Linked DNA regions of Homo sapiens: region 1 is linked to region 2. The links are contacts of gene promoters, found by promoter capture Hi-C in blood cells and fetal thymus (Javierre and others, 2016). All regions are on one chromosome and are shown on one strand. The core of a region is centred on a gene start or on the middle of the fragment in contact, and the rest is flanking DNA. Distances in the headings are between cores, read along the strand shown. Region 1 overlaps SLC31A1 (solute carrier family 31 member 1). Region 2 holds the start of ALAD (aminolevulinate dehydratase).

What was found. The method cuts DNA at HindIII sites, captures the fragments that hold promoters and counts their contacts. A CHiCAGO score of 5 or more calls a contact.
Region 1: a fragment that was not itself captured here is called in contact with the fragment with the promoter of ALAD in region 2 in 2 of 17 cell types (erythroblasts and M2 macrophages); the score reaches 6.0 in erythroblasts.

What each region holds. Positions count from the first base shown.
Region 1 is chr9:113,255,070-113,260,761 of GRCh38, forward strand. SLC31A1 (solute carrier family 31 member 1) reads left to right here. Exons shown (of 5, transcript NM_001859.4): 2 at 1,045-1,208; 3 at 2,044-2,116; 4 at 3,625-3,793; 5 at 5,203-5,692. The coding sequence starts at 1,080. The coding sequence ends at 5,404. LOC107987119 (a long non-coding RNA gene) reads right to left here and starts at 1,534. Exons shown (of 3, transcript XR_007061737.1): 1 at 1,386-1,534. The HindIII fragment of the contact is 4,617 bases long and covers 1,972-5,692 here.
Region 2 is chr9:113,397,072-113,403,046 of GRCh38, forward strand. ALAD (aminolevulinate dehydratase) reads right to left here and starts at 4,213. Exons shown (of 12, transcript NM_000031.6): 1 at 4,141-4,213. RefSeq lists an enhancer at 3,369-3,949 and silencers at 3,965-4,014, 4,165-4,524. The HindIII fragment of the contact is 5,410 bases long and covers 1,549-5,975 here.

The DNA of each region.
Region 1 (5,692 bases), core at 3,030-5,529, 140 kb before region 2:
ATGTCCTGGTAGGATTGAAATTGTATCTGAAGTCTGAGCACACTGCGTGCCTAGGGCCATAGTAGACCTTTCTTCAAATTTAAATTAGCTGAAGGCTGGTTGTCCTGTATGTGAAAATGTAATCCAAATATCCTGATTAGGCACAGGCCATCCCAATTAGGTGAATTATCTGAAGTCCTTGCTTTTTATCTGCTGACATTTATGATTAGAAAGCCTTAAAGCAGTTAAATTTCATTAATGGCATTCATTTGTATCTTATTACAGATTGCCTGTTTCCTGCAACCCAAAGAAGCTGCTTTCCTTCTCCTTATCTAATATTTAAGTTTGAACATATATTAAGCATACCTATTAAAGGAACTATACTGGTGGGGCACAGTGGCTTACACCTGTAATCCCAACACTTTGGGAGGCCAAGGCAAGAGGATTGCTTGAGCTCAGGAGTTCGAGACCTGCCTGGGCAACACGAGACCTCATCTGTACGATAAAACAAAAAATTAGCTGAGCGTGGTAGTGGTGCAGGCCTGTGATTCCACCTACTCAGGAGGCTGAGGTTGAGGCTGTGGTGAGTTGCACTCCAGCCTGGGTGATGGAGCAAGACCCTGTCTCAAAAAAAAAGGAACAATTCTGCAGAATAAGGAAGGGTTAGGCATCTGTAGCCCTACGTGTAAACCCTTTCTGCTACAGTCTCCAAAAGTGATCCCTATTAGCACGAGTTCTTTCTCTCTCCATCTGTAGATTATGAAAAATAATTCTGAGTAAAGATGCTAGGAGAGCATTCATTTATTAGATGCATTCCATATAGACAAAGTATTTACCAAGAAACAAGCCCAGGAGCAGGGAACCACCAGGTTGCCTGGTGAACCAGCCTAGATCAGAAATGGAGCAGGTCAAAACTCCTGTACTGATCAGTAGTGGGATCATGCCTGTGAATAGCCATTGCATTCCAGCCTGGGCAACATAGCAAGATTCCATCTCTAAAAATAAAAAAAAGAGATAAGATTTTTATATCCTTAAATTATTATATATAATTCTTTCTCTTAAAAGAATCTTCTGCTGACTCTCAACTTTTCCTGGAAAAAATGGATCATTCCCACCATATGGGGATGAGCTATATGGACTCCAACAGTACCATGCAACCTTCTCACCATCACCCAACCACTTCAGCCTCACACTCCCATGGTGGAGGAGACAGCAGCATGATGATGATGGTGAGTGCCATAGGAGGGGCAATGCAGGCCCTTTCCCACCCACTTGGGTAATAGAAATAATGGAATTTTAGTACTGGAAGCTTATTATCTTTAAAGGTCAGTTTACCAGTGAGGATAACTAAAGCAGACCCAAGCAAGTCAAGTCATTTGCTCCAGATTATGTGGCAAGCTACTTACAGAGTCACACCAGAACCAAGATTTTAGGCTTCTTTCTTTGGTGGTCCCTTCTGAAATCGACTCTTTTCTGAATTAGGGGTTCTGGTCTTTATGCCTTGGGTGGAAAAGAGAAAAAGACAAAAGTTGGCCAGGCACAGTGGCTCATGCCTGTAATCCCAACACTTTGGGAGGCCAAGGCAGGTGGATCACAAGGTCAGGAGATCGAGACCATCCTAGCTAACACGGTGAAACCCCATCTCTACTAAAAATACAAAAAATTAGCTGGGCATGATGGCATTCGCCTGTAGTCCCAGCTACTTGGGAGGCTGAGGCAGGAGAATCGCTTGAACCCAGGAGGTGGAGGTTGTAGTGAGCCGAGATCTCGCCACTGCATTCCAGCCTGGGCTACAGAGCGAGAATCCGTATCAAAAAAAAAAAAAAAAAAGATAAAAGTTGATGGTGGGGGCCCAGGAGAAAAGTTGATGGTGGGGGCCTAGTAGAATACTCATGCTCGGTGCCTGTGGTGGTAACGCTAACATGAGGGCAAAAGCCTCCCACTCACGTGAATGTCTCTTATTATCCAGATCTTCTACTTTTAAATGTTCTAAGCTTCTTTGCCCCAAATTCTCATTTAGAATTTTCATTCATCTCTAACTGACTTGTTTTGGTTTTCTGGCAGCCTATGACCTTCTACTTTGGCTTTAAGAATGTGGAACTACTGTTTTCCGGTTTGGTGATCAATACAGCTGGAGGTGAGTAAGCCATTAGGTAGTGTTGGAAGGTGATAGTCACATGAGAGACAGTGACAAATAATTTGGAAGTCCAGCACCTCTTTCTGTCCTAATTACTAAGTCAACATGGTAATGATGCATAACCATCTTGGTTCCTATTTCCTACCTAGAAGGTAGGAAACACAGTACTTTTTTGGTCCTCTGGTAAACCTCTGTTAACTAACATGTATGTTTTGGAGCTCTAAAAAATAATTTAGATACCAGATAGAATCTTTTGCAATCCATTTTCTTTCATTCTTTTCCAGAGTGTTTAATTTTTTTTTTTTTTTTTTTTTTTGAGACGGAGTTTCACTCTTGTCACCCAGGCTGGAGTGCAATGGCAGCTATCTTGGCTCACTGCAATCTCTGCCTCCCAGGTTCAAGCGATTCTCCTGCCTCAGCCTCCTGAGTAGCTGGAGTTAAACAGGCACCTACCGCCATGCCTGGCTAATTTTTGTATTTTTAATAGAGACGGGGTTTTGCCATGTTTGCCAGGCTGGTCTCGAACTCCTCACCTCAAGTGATCCACCCACCTCAGCCTCCCAAAGTGCTGGGATTACAGGCATGAGCCACCATGCCCGGCCTCAGAGTGTTTACTTATTTGATAAGTTATTAGTCCTGGACATAAGACTAACTCAAATTAAGTACCACAAAATAAGTTTAAAACTATTGTTCTAATACTTCAATTTTACAATAAATTAAGTGCCACAAATTGTGAAATGACTCGCCATCAATCATAGAGTTAATATGTCAGAGCTAGGACAAGGACCCAGACCTTCTAGAGCTACCTAGACCAGTGTTCTTTTAGTCTACCAAACTATGGCCCACATCCTTCCTGATTCTTGGCACGGCCCATCTTAGACACTCCTAGTTTTGAGGTAGATGATTACCCATCTGTTTGTGTCTATTATGTTGTATGGTATACTTTAAATTTAACTTGCGCAAACTCAATAGTCAGTTGGACTGCCTTAGGTACCAGATGTCTGTTTGGAGCCATAAAATCAATTTGTTTTGGGAAGAAGGAGAGCATTTAGTTCAGGTAATGTGTTAAATTAGCAGTTTGAATACATTTATATCATTACCAACACTTCACAGTGTGAAAGACTTAGAATTGAAATGCCTATTCAGGAAATGTAGTCAGCCACTGATGAAACTAAATTGTTTTATTCCCTGTTCCATATTCTACATTGTGTGTTTCAGTGTAACAAACCTAATTTAATGATATCAAGCAGTCTGACCAAAAGGTTATTGTTGTTCTGATTATTTTTCTTATCTTAATCAGAAAGTAAATATGTTCTTGGCAGAGGCAATAGTTTTCAGTTACACCATCTTAGCCGTTCTCCTATCTGAGCAAGAGAAGAGGTAAAAATATAATGTCTTCAAAAGCTGAGAGTAGCATTTTTTCTATGTGTCTTTCTAGCTGGACAGCACATTGGCTAATGATTTTGCACATGTTTGACAGTACCTCCATATTTTCCTTCCATACTTAGAAATGGCTGGAGCTTTTGTGGCAGTGTTTTTACTAGCAATGTTCTATGAAGGACTCAAGATAGCCCGAGAGAGCCTGCTGCGTAAGTCACAAGTCAGCATTCGCTACAATTCCATGCCTGTCCCAGGACCAAATGGAACCATCCTTATGGAGACACACAAAACTGTTGGGTAAGAACTGAACAGATCCAGATGAAGTCCTAAAGAACTCGATCAGTTAAGCAGCAAAGCGCAGCTGTGTGATCAGCAGCAGCCCTCTTCTTGAGTTAGGAGTTCTGTATGACCTTGATCAAAACTGTCCTTGGAGGTTTGGGTTTGTAGGTCATGAGCAGGCCAAAGGAGGAATGAGAGGGAGTCTTCTGCAAATATGAATGTTTGTTCTGAGTTGTACGGATTGGCCACTTTGGAAGAAGGGAAGTGAGGAATCCATATTTTAAAATATTTACCAAAATAATAATGAACAAGTTAAGAAATTCAGATCAAGATATAAAAGAATGGCAGATTGCAGTTGATTCTATAAAGTTACACCTAGTCAGCCCTGTCCTCTTTTTCTTTACAATGTAAGACTGTATTGATTTCTGTGTTCTGTCTAAGAAAGTATTTGGATGATTATTGGTTTTTCCCATAGATTGGCAAATGTTTTTTGAGATTGTTTTAATAAAAATGTAAGTCTTAAAACCAAATTGGACCTTAAGAAATCCTATAGACTGATATCCTGCTTTCAAACAAGCAGTGTTATTTATTGTACTGATGAGCTTACTGGGGCCCAGAAGGATTGTGACCTACCTAAGGTGGCACAGGGGATGAGTAGCCAGGTCTCCTTATCCCTAATTAAGTAATTTCTTCTATACTACCCAACCCTCAATTCTATTTTTTTTTCTTTTTTTCTTTCTTTTTTTTTTTTTTTTCTGGAGACAGGGTCTCCCTCTATTGCCCAGGCTGAAGTGCAGTGGCACTATCTTGGCTCACTGCAATCTCTGCCTTCCAGACTCAAGTGATCCTCCCACCTCAGCCTCCTAAGTAGCTGGAACTACAGGCATGAGCCACCACACCCAGCTAATTTTTTTTATTTTTTGTAGAGACAAGGTTTCGCCATGTTGCCCAGGCTGGTCTGAAACTCCTGAGCTCAAGCAATCAGCCCACCTCGGCCTCCCAAAGTGCTGGGATTAAAGGCATTAGCCACCACCCCCAGCCTCTGTTTCTGTTTTTGTAGAATGTAAACTTTGCAAAGGTGGGAAGCCTAAAAATATTCGGGCAGATGAGCGTGAGAGGGTTTACGGCTTCCCTTTCAGGATCTAAGGTGGAGGTAAGTCGGGATTACTCCTCGTCCTTTTCTCCTCCTCCGGAAAAGGGTTCCTTCTACTGGAGGAACCACAGCCATATCTGGCCAATGTTTATAAGCCTGACAGCCCTGTGCTGTTTCATTTCCATGGACCAATCAAAGAACATTCAAGTACCCATGAGTTGCCAGAGTGGCTGTCCAGTTCCAGCTGAGCTCATGGCAAGAACTCTTCCCTCTTTCTCCTGATCTGCAGAACTCCTAGGAGTCCCTGATTGTTGTGTCCCTGTTTACTCTCCAGGCAACAGATGCTGAGCTTTCCTCACCTCCTGCAAACAGTGCTGCACATCATCCAGGTGGTCATAAGCTACTTCCTCATGCTCATCTTCATGACCTACAACGGGTACCTCTGCATTGCAGTAGCAGCAGGGGCCGGTACAGGATACTTCCTCTTCAGCTGGAAGAAGGCAGTGGTAGTGGATATCACAGAGCATTGCCATTGACATCAAACTCTATGGCGTGGCCTTATCGATTGCAGTGGGAAGTTGTTGAAGACTTGAAGACGTGATTCCTGCTCCAATCATCCCTTCTTGCTCCTCTTTGTGCACGTACACACACACACACACACACACACACACACACCCCTGCTCAACAGAGGTTTAGTTTACAGTCTCTGAACTAAAGTAGTAACCTCCCAAATTGTTTTTTCTAATAAGCTGAGATTCCCATTTCTCTTAAGGAGAAGCCACCCATGAGATGTCTTTTCCTTCTCCATCATCTTAGAGCCAAGT
Region 2 (5,975 bases), core at 2,963-5,462:
CTAGAACCCTGGTGTGTTAACTCCCAGGTGAACTGGGAGATCCTTTGGTAGGTTGGAGTCAAGTCAGATGTCGAAGCCAGGTCTAATCCCTCTAATTTGCTTCCCAGAAAACCACCTTTGTAACAGGTCCTTGGCTTCTGGAATCCAAAGCTGCATTCCCGTGGCCTCAACTCCTCATTGCTTTCAGGAGGCTGAGGGAACAACTGCCTCCTGCTTATCAGAAACAGTGGGGCAGGGCTGCCTAGGAACTGGCTGCCCTTCTCCCCATAGTCTCTTAGGCCCCTTTAGCTGCCTTCAGCCATCTCAGGGGCCCATTTTATCCAGTCTTCCTCCTTGGTAGGGTGGGGTTATCACAAGTCACACAGGGGCCAGCCCTGCTGCCACACCCCTGGGTGGGCCAGCCCCATCACCTAACACAGGGGCAGGCCAGGCCTCCCCAGTCATGTCTCAACCTCCAAACAGACAATTATTCAGTAGATATGAGGTCCCAGCTGCCCATTTCGTACTCGATTTTGCTCTCATGTCTGCCAGGAGTTTTTTTTCCTTTTCTTTTTTTTTTTTTTTTTTTTTTGAGACAGAGTCTGGCTCTGTCACCCAAGCTGGAGTGCAGTGGTTCGATCTCGGCTCACTGCAACCTCCACCTCCTGGGTTCAAGTGATTCTCCTGCCTCAGCCTCCCAAATAGATGGGACTACAGGCATGCATGACCATGCTTGGCTAATTTTTGTATTTTTAGTAGAGACAGGGTTTCGCCATGTTGGCCAGGCTGGTCTCAAACTCCTGACTTCAAGTGATCCGCCCGCCTCTGCCTCCCAAAGTGCTGGGATTACAGGCGTGAGCCACCGCACCTGGCCGAGAGAATATTTTTGCATATTGAGAGAATTACCAAAATGTAAGCCAGTTGCCCAAGACCACATAGCTACTTAGTGACTGAGCCAGAATTTGAATTTGTTCTGGACTCCAAATGCTGGGTTTTATATACTGTATTTCATAATACTGATAAACACCTGATTCAGTAGGCGTCTCTCTGCCCATACTGTTTCTGCTTTGGGTGCTGGAGAGACAGAAGAAACAAAAGAAAAACATACTGAGTGTATTCGTTCTGTGCTGGGCACAGCACTGAAGTACTTGGTAGTAGTATCTCATTTCATTGCAAGAATTGTCCTAACTTTTAGTGATAAGGAAACAGAGGCTCTGAGCGGTTCAGTGACTTGCTTAATGCCATTCTAGAGTCTAGTCAGATGTTGAAGAGAGGTCTAATCTCTCTGACTCACTTCCCACAAACAATCTCTGTTGTTTTCTGGCTTCTGAATCCAAAGCTGCATTCCACTGGCCTCAACTCCCCATCGCTTTTAGGAGGCTGAGGGAACAACTGGCTCCTGCTTAGCAGAAACCCTGGGGCAGGACTGCCTAGGAGCCTGAGACCGGGGCAGGGTTAGAGTAAAGGGAACAGTCTCACTACAGCAGTCCACTTTGATCTGTTTTTGAATTTTAAGATTCAGAGACAGATTTGATTTGAGAAACGGCTGTCAGTGCTGAAAATATTAAAAGCTTGAAAATTGCCAATCCTGTTTAATCCCTTACACTTTAATGTGGAAAATGGGGTATAAAGAGGCAACGGGACTTTTGGAGATCACAGTGAGTGACATACAGAGCTATAAACTGACCCTGCAGCTCCTGGCTTCTATTTCAGTGCCCTGATACCTACACCATAGAGTCATTCCATTGTAAGAGGTACTTAATAAGTGGAGTTTCCCACTCCATTCTGTGAGTGGGAAAACACCCCCTGAATCACATATTGGCAGAGCCAAATGCAGGGTGGGTTTTGCTTTGCAAAAAGGCCCTTAGAGTTTGGGAGAATTTCACAGACTGGGAGGGCACTTCTCCCAAATCAAGCGAGCTTGCAAACCACAATTTAAATGCCTGTGACATTACCACACTGAAGACAGGAGCGAGCCGCCAGGAGGTCCAGCACCTCTGCCCAACCACATCAGACAGGTTAGCTTTGCTGGGACGCAGAGTATAGGGCGGTGCAGAAAGATCCATGTTTCAGGGTCAGACAGTCCCAGGTTTGGTCTATGCTCTGCTGTGTAATTTTGGGCAAAGTAATTGACCTTTCAGTGTTCATTTCATAATCTACAAAATAGGCATGATATCTCTAACTTGCAAGGCTGTGGAGATTATTGATAGGGATAAGGTAGGTGTCTGGCACCAAGTAGCTGCACAGTAAACATGTAGCTACTTTTATTACTATTAGGAGTGGGGCTGGGTTGGAACGAGATGTCCTGGCACAGCTCTGTGCCTTCTGCACCTCACCAGATGGGAATATGAGCTCAAACCCTTGTGGGCCACAGGGTTTTCCAAGATTTCTGAAGTGGAGTCCCTGCCTTCCAGCAGGTTATGTGGTGGAGGAAAAACAAAATAATCACCACCGGGCTGCCAGAGTAGAGGGGTGGACCAGGTGCTGTCAGAGGGACTGTGTCTCTGAGTCAAGGGTGGTTTCATGGAAGAGGGGACAGTGAAGGATAAGAAGTGTTTCAGATTTAATATGAAAGTATCTCCTCCCATGGAAGGCAACATCCCCAAACTGGGAGTAACTGAAGTTGGGCCCTGAGCACTGCTACCAGGAGGGGCTATGAGCTTCATGTGCCACCCCCCACCCCTGCAAGTTGTACTATGCTGAGGATTCCAGAGGCTGTGGGTCTTCGCACAGAGGCTTAGGACCTGCTGCCAGCCCTGGCAGGCTCTGCCACTGGCCAGGGAGGAGGCAGTCAGGAGAGCCAGCTAGATAGAAGGTGGCCAGAACTGAGAAATCCAAAGCCCCACAAAGGCCCAGGAGAGCAGCTGTCATGCAGTTCTGAAAAGAGATGAAGTGTTTATTCAGCCAACCCACATTTCTTGAATATCTACTATGGGCCTGCTGAAGTGCTAGACACAGGGATTAAAGAGAAGAATGAGACCCCAGCCTTGCCCTGGGGCTTTGAAGAGCCTGATCGCCTCTGGGGTTAGCCATTTAGACGTAGGAGAAGCTGCCATTCCCAGAATCCTAGAATATCTTGGCTAAGAGTCTTCTTAAAGTTTGCTGATTGTATCACTGAAACAAGGGTGAAACTGGGCTCAGAGAGGGGTAGACACAGGCCCAGGATCACGCAGTGGGTCAGCGGCAGATCTGGGGGAAGGTCTCCAGCAGCCCAGTCCTCAGTGCCCACCATGACACCTCCATACTTTAAGGATAGATATCAAATCTGTTTCCCAGCAGGTTGGGCTTGTGGAGAGCTTTGGGTGAGCCAGACTCTGGGCCTGGCTGCTGTTGGTAGCAGGATGGTTAAGTATGTGGGCTCTGGAGTCTGATAGATGTGGGTACAAATCCTAGTTCTGTAGCTTTCTAGTTGTGTGACCTCAGTTTCTTCGTTTAGTAAATGGGGACTAGAACCGACCTCAATGGGTTGTTGTAAGAAATGAATGGGTCAGGCCGGGCGTGGTGGCTCACGCCTGTAATCCCAGCACTTTGGGAGGCCGAGGTGGGCGAATCACCTGAGCTCGGGAGTTCGAGACTAGCCTGACCAACAGGGAGAAACCCCATCTCTACTAAAAATACAAAAATTAGCAGGCGTGGTGGCACACGCCTGTAATCCCAGCTAGTTGGCAGGCTGAGGCAGGAGAATCGCTTGAACCCGGGAGGCGGAGGTTGCAGTGAGCTGAGATCGCGCCATTGCACTCCAGCCTGGGCAACAAGAGCGAAACTCCGTCTCAAAAATAAATAAATAAATAAAATAAATGAATGGTCAATGCACGCAACGCTTAGTACAAAACGGCTGTTATTGTTTTCACCTCCCTACCCCCCCACCAACCACCACCCGCACCTCGGGTTCTGCATCGATGGAGTCTGCCCAGGCGGTATCCGAGAGGGTGAACCCCAGAGAAGAGGTGCGGAGCCCCGAACCCGGGCCCCCAACCTCGGCTGCAGCGGGATAATCCAGCCCAAACAAACGCTCCACGGGACTCCGTGCACGGCTGCACCGCCAGGGCTTCAGGCGCACAGCACAATCTGGGGACGCAGGACTCTTGGTGCCACAGTCCCCGCCTCGCCCTGGAGCCGCCCTCCAGGCCCGCTATCTCCCCGCATCCAGCCCCCGCTCACCTGCCTCCCTAAGGGCTCCCGGCCGCTGCTCCTGTCACCGCTGTCTCCCGCTCCGGTCTCCCACAGACCGCGTAAGAGCGGGGGGGGCTCACCCGGAAGCAGCTTCCCCACGGTCCGCCCCCTCCACAGTCCAGGCCACGCCCCCTGAAGGCGGTCTTCTGGGGGGCTCCTCCGCTCCAGCCGCGGCCCCGCCCACACGCAACGAGGCCTGGCCAATTGGGTGTGTCGAGGGCCTGGAGGGCCCGCCCGTCCCCGCTCCGGGCCCTGCGCTTGTGCAGCGAACTGCAGGAGGGAGGCCACGAGGGGGCGCAGGAACCGCTTGGGAGGGTCCCTGGGTGTGAGCCGGCCTCGGAGGCGGTTACAGCCCAGGTTTCACTTCACAGCATTCCTTTGCCCAGCCTAGGGCAAACTTGGCTCTGGTTAATGGCTTGGTGAAAGAATAATTGGATGTCAAAGCCGTTAAAACAGCACCATTATGCCTAACACAGTATTAGCTAAGTCCATTTTTGCGGACTAAGCTAAAGTTGTTGAGTTCAGCGCCAGGCTTCCAAGTTTTCAGAGAAAATTTGTACCAGCTTCATTTATTTCTCAGGGTACGGCAATGCTATGAGTTGAGAGATGTGATGTGAAAGACATGGGCGTTTAGGAAAACTCCAAGTCTTGATAGGGGCATCAGACCTATGATAGGTACAATGATAGATCCGATCAAAGGTCTTTATGGAGATTGGAGATGTGCAGAGGCAAGAGGGATCTGGTGAGGCTTATGGGGCCTGGGTAAACCAGTAGGATTGGATGAGTAAAATGGCGATCGGGCATCATCGCCCTAGCGAAGCAATGCCTTTCAGGTGGTTCTTCAGGGATTATTGAAAAGTTGACTTTCAAATGTAGAGGACACTAGTGGGTTACATTACACTTATTCTCAGATTTTATTTCTCAGCCCGGTTCGGTGGCTCACGCCTGTAATCCCAGCACTTTGGGAGGCCAAGGCGGGCGGATCTCTTGAGGTCAGGAGTTCAAGACCAGCCTGACCAACATGGTGAAACCCTGTCTCTACTAAAAATACAAAAAATTAGCCGGGCGTGGTGGCGGGCTCCTGTAATCCCAGCTACTCGGGAGGCTGAGGCAGGAGAATCGCTTGAACCCGGGAGGCGGAGGTTGTAATGGGCTGAGATCATGCCACTGCATTCCAGCCTGGGTGACAGAGGGAGACTCTGTCTCAAAAAAAAATTTTTTTTTAAATTTCTCAAAATCTGTACCCCAAACCTGTTGTATACTTTATATTTTAAATTTAAGGGGCCTAGCGGCGTAAGGCTAGGGAAATATGACACTGCTTAGTTTCCAGCTACTGGAGTTCTGATCTGTATTCAACAAGGAAGGGGATAGAAAGCAAATAATGTTTGCTGTGCATTAAAGAGTCAGGGACAGTACCATGCATTTTACATTCATTTATCTAATCTTGACAGCAACGATGTTACTATTCTCACTTTACGGATTGGGAAAACAATTGCCAGCTAGATTAAATAATTTGCCCCATGTTACACTGGGCTCTCTCTGCAATGCCTGCTAATAACCACACTCCATAGGGGCAATTATTATTTGTTTTTTCCTAGATTCCCTGCCCGACATTTCTTTCCTGACACTCATTCCTTCCCTGAGGTTATTGGTAACTAAAAATAATTAGAACCATCTAAGAACCCAAATAGAACGGGAAATTTTAAAATGTTGCTGTTTGGTGTAGCTTATTTCCCCCATGTCTTTTCTTCTTCTTGACTGAAAGACCTGTTCCCACTCTCCCCCCAGCCTCCACCTTTTGAAACATTTTACCTTAATCTTTC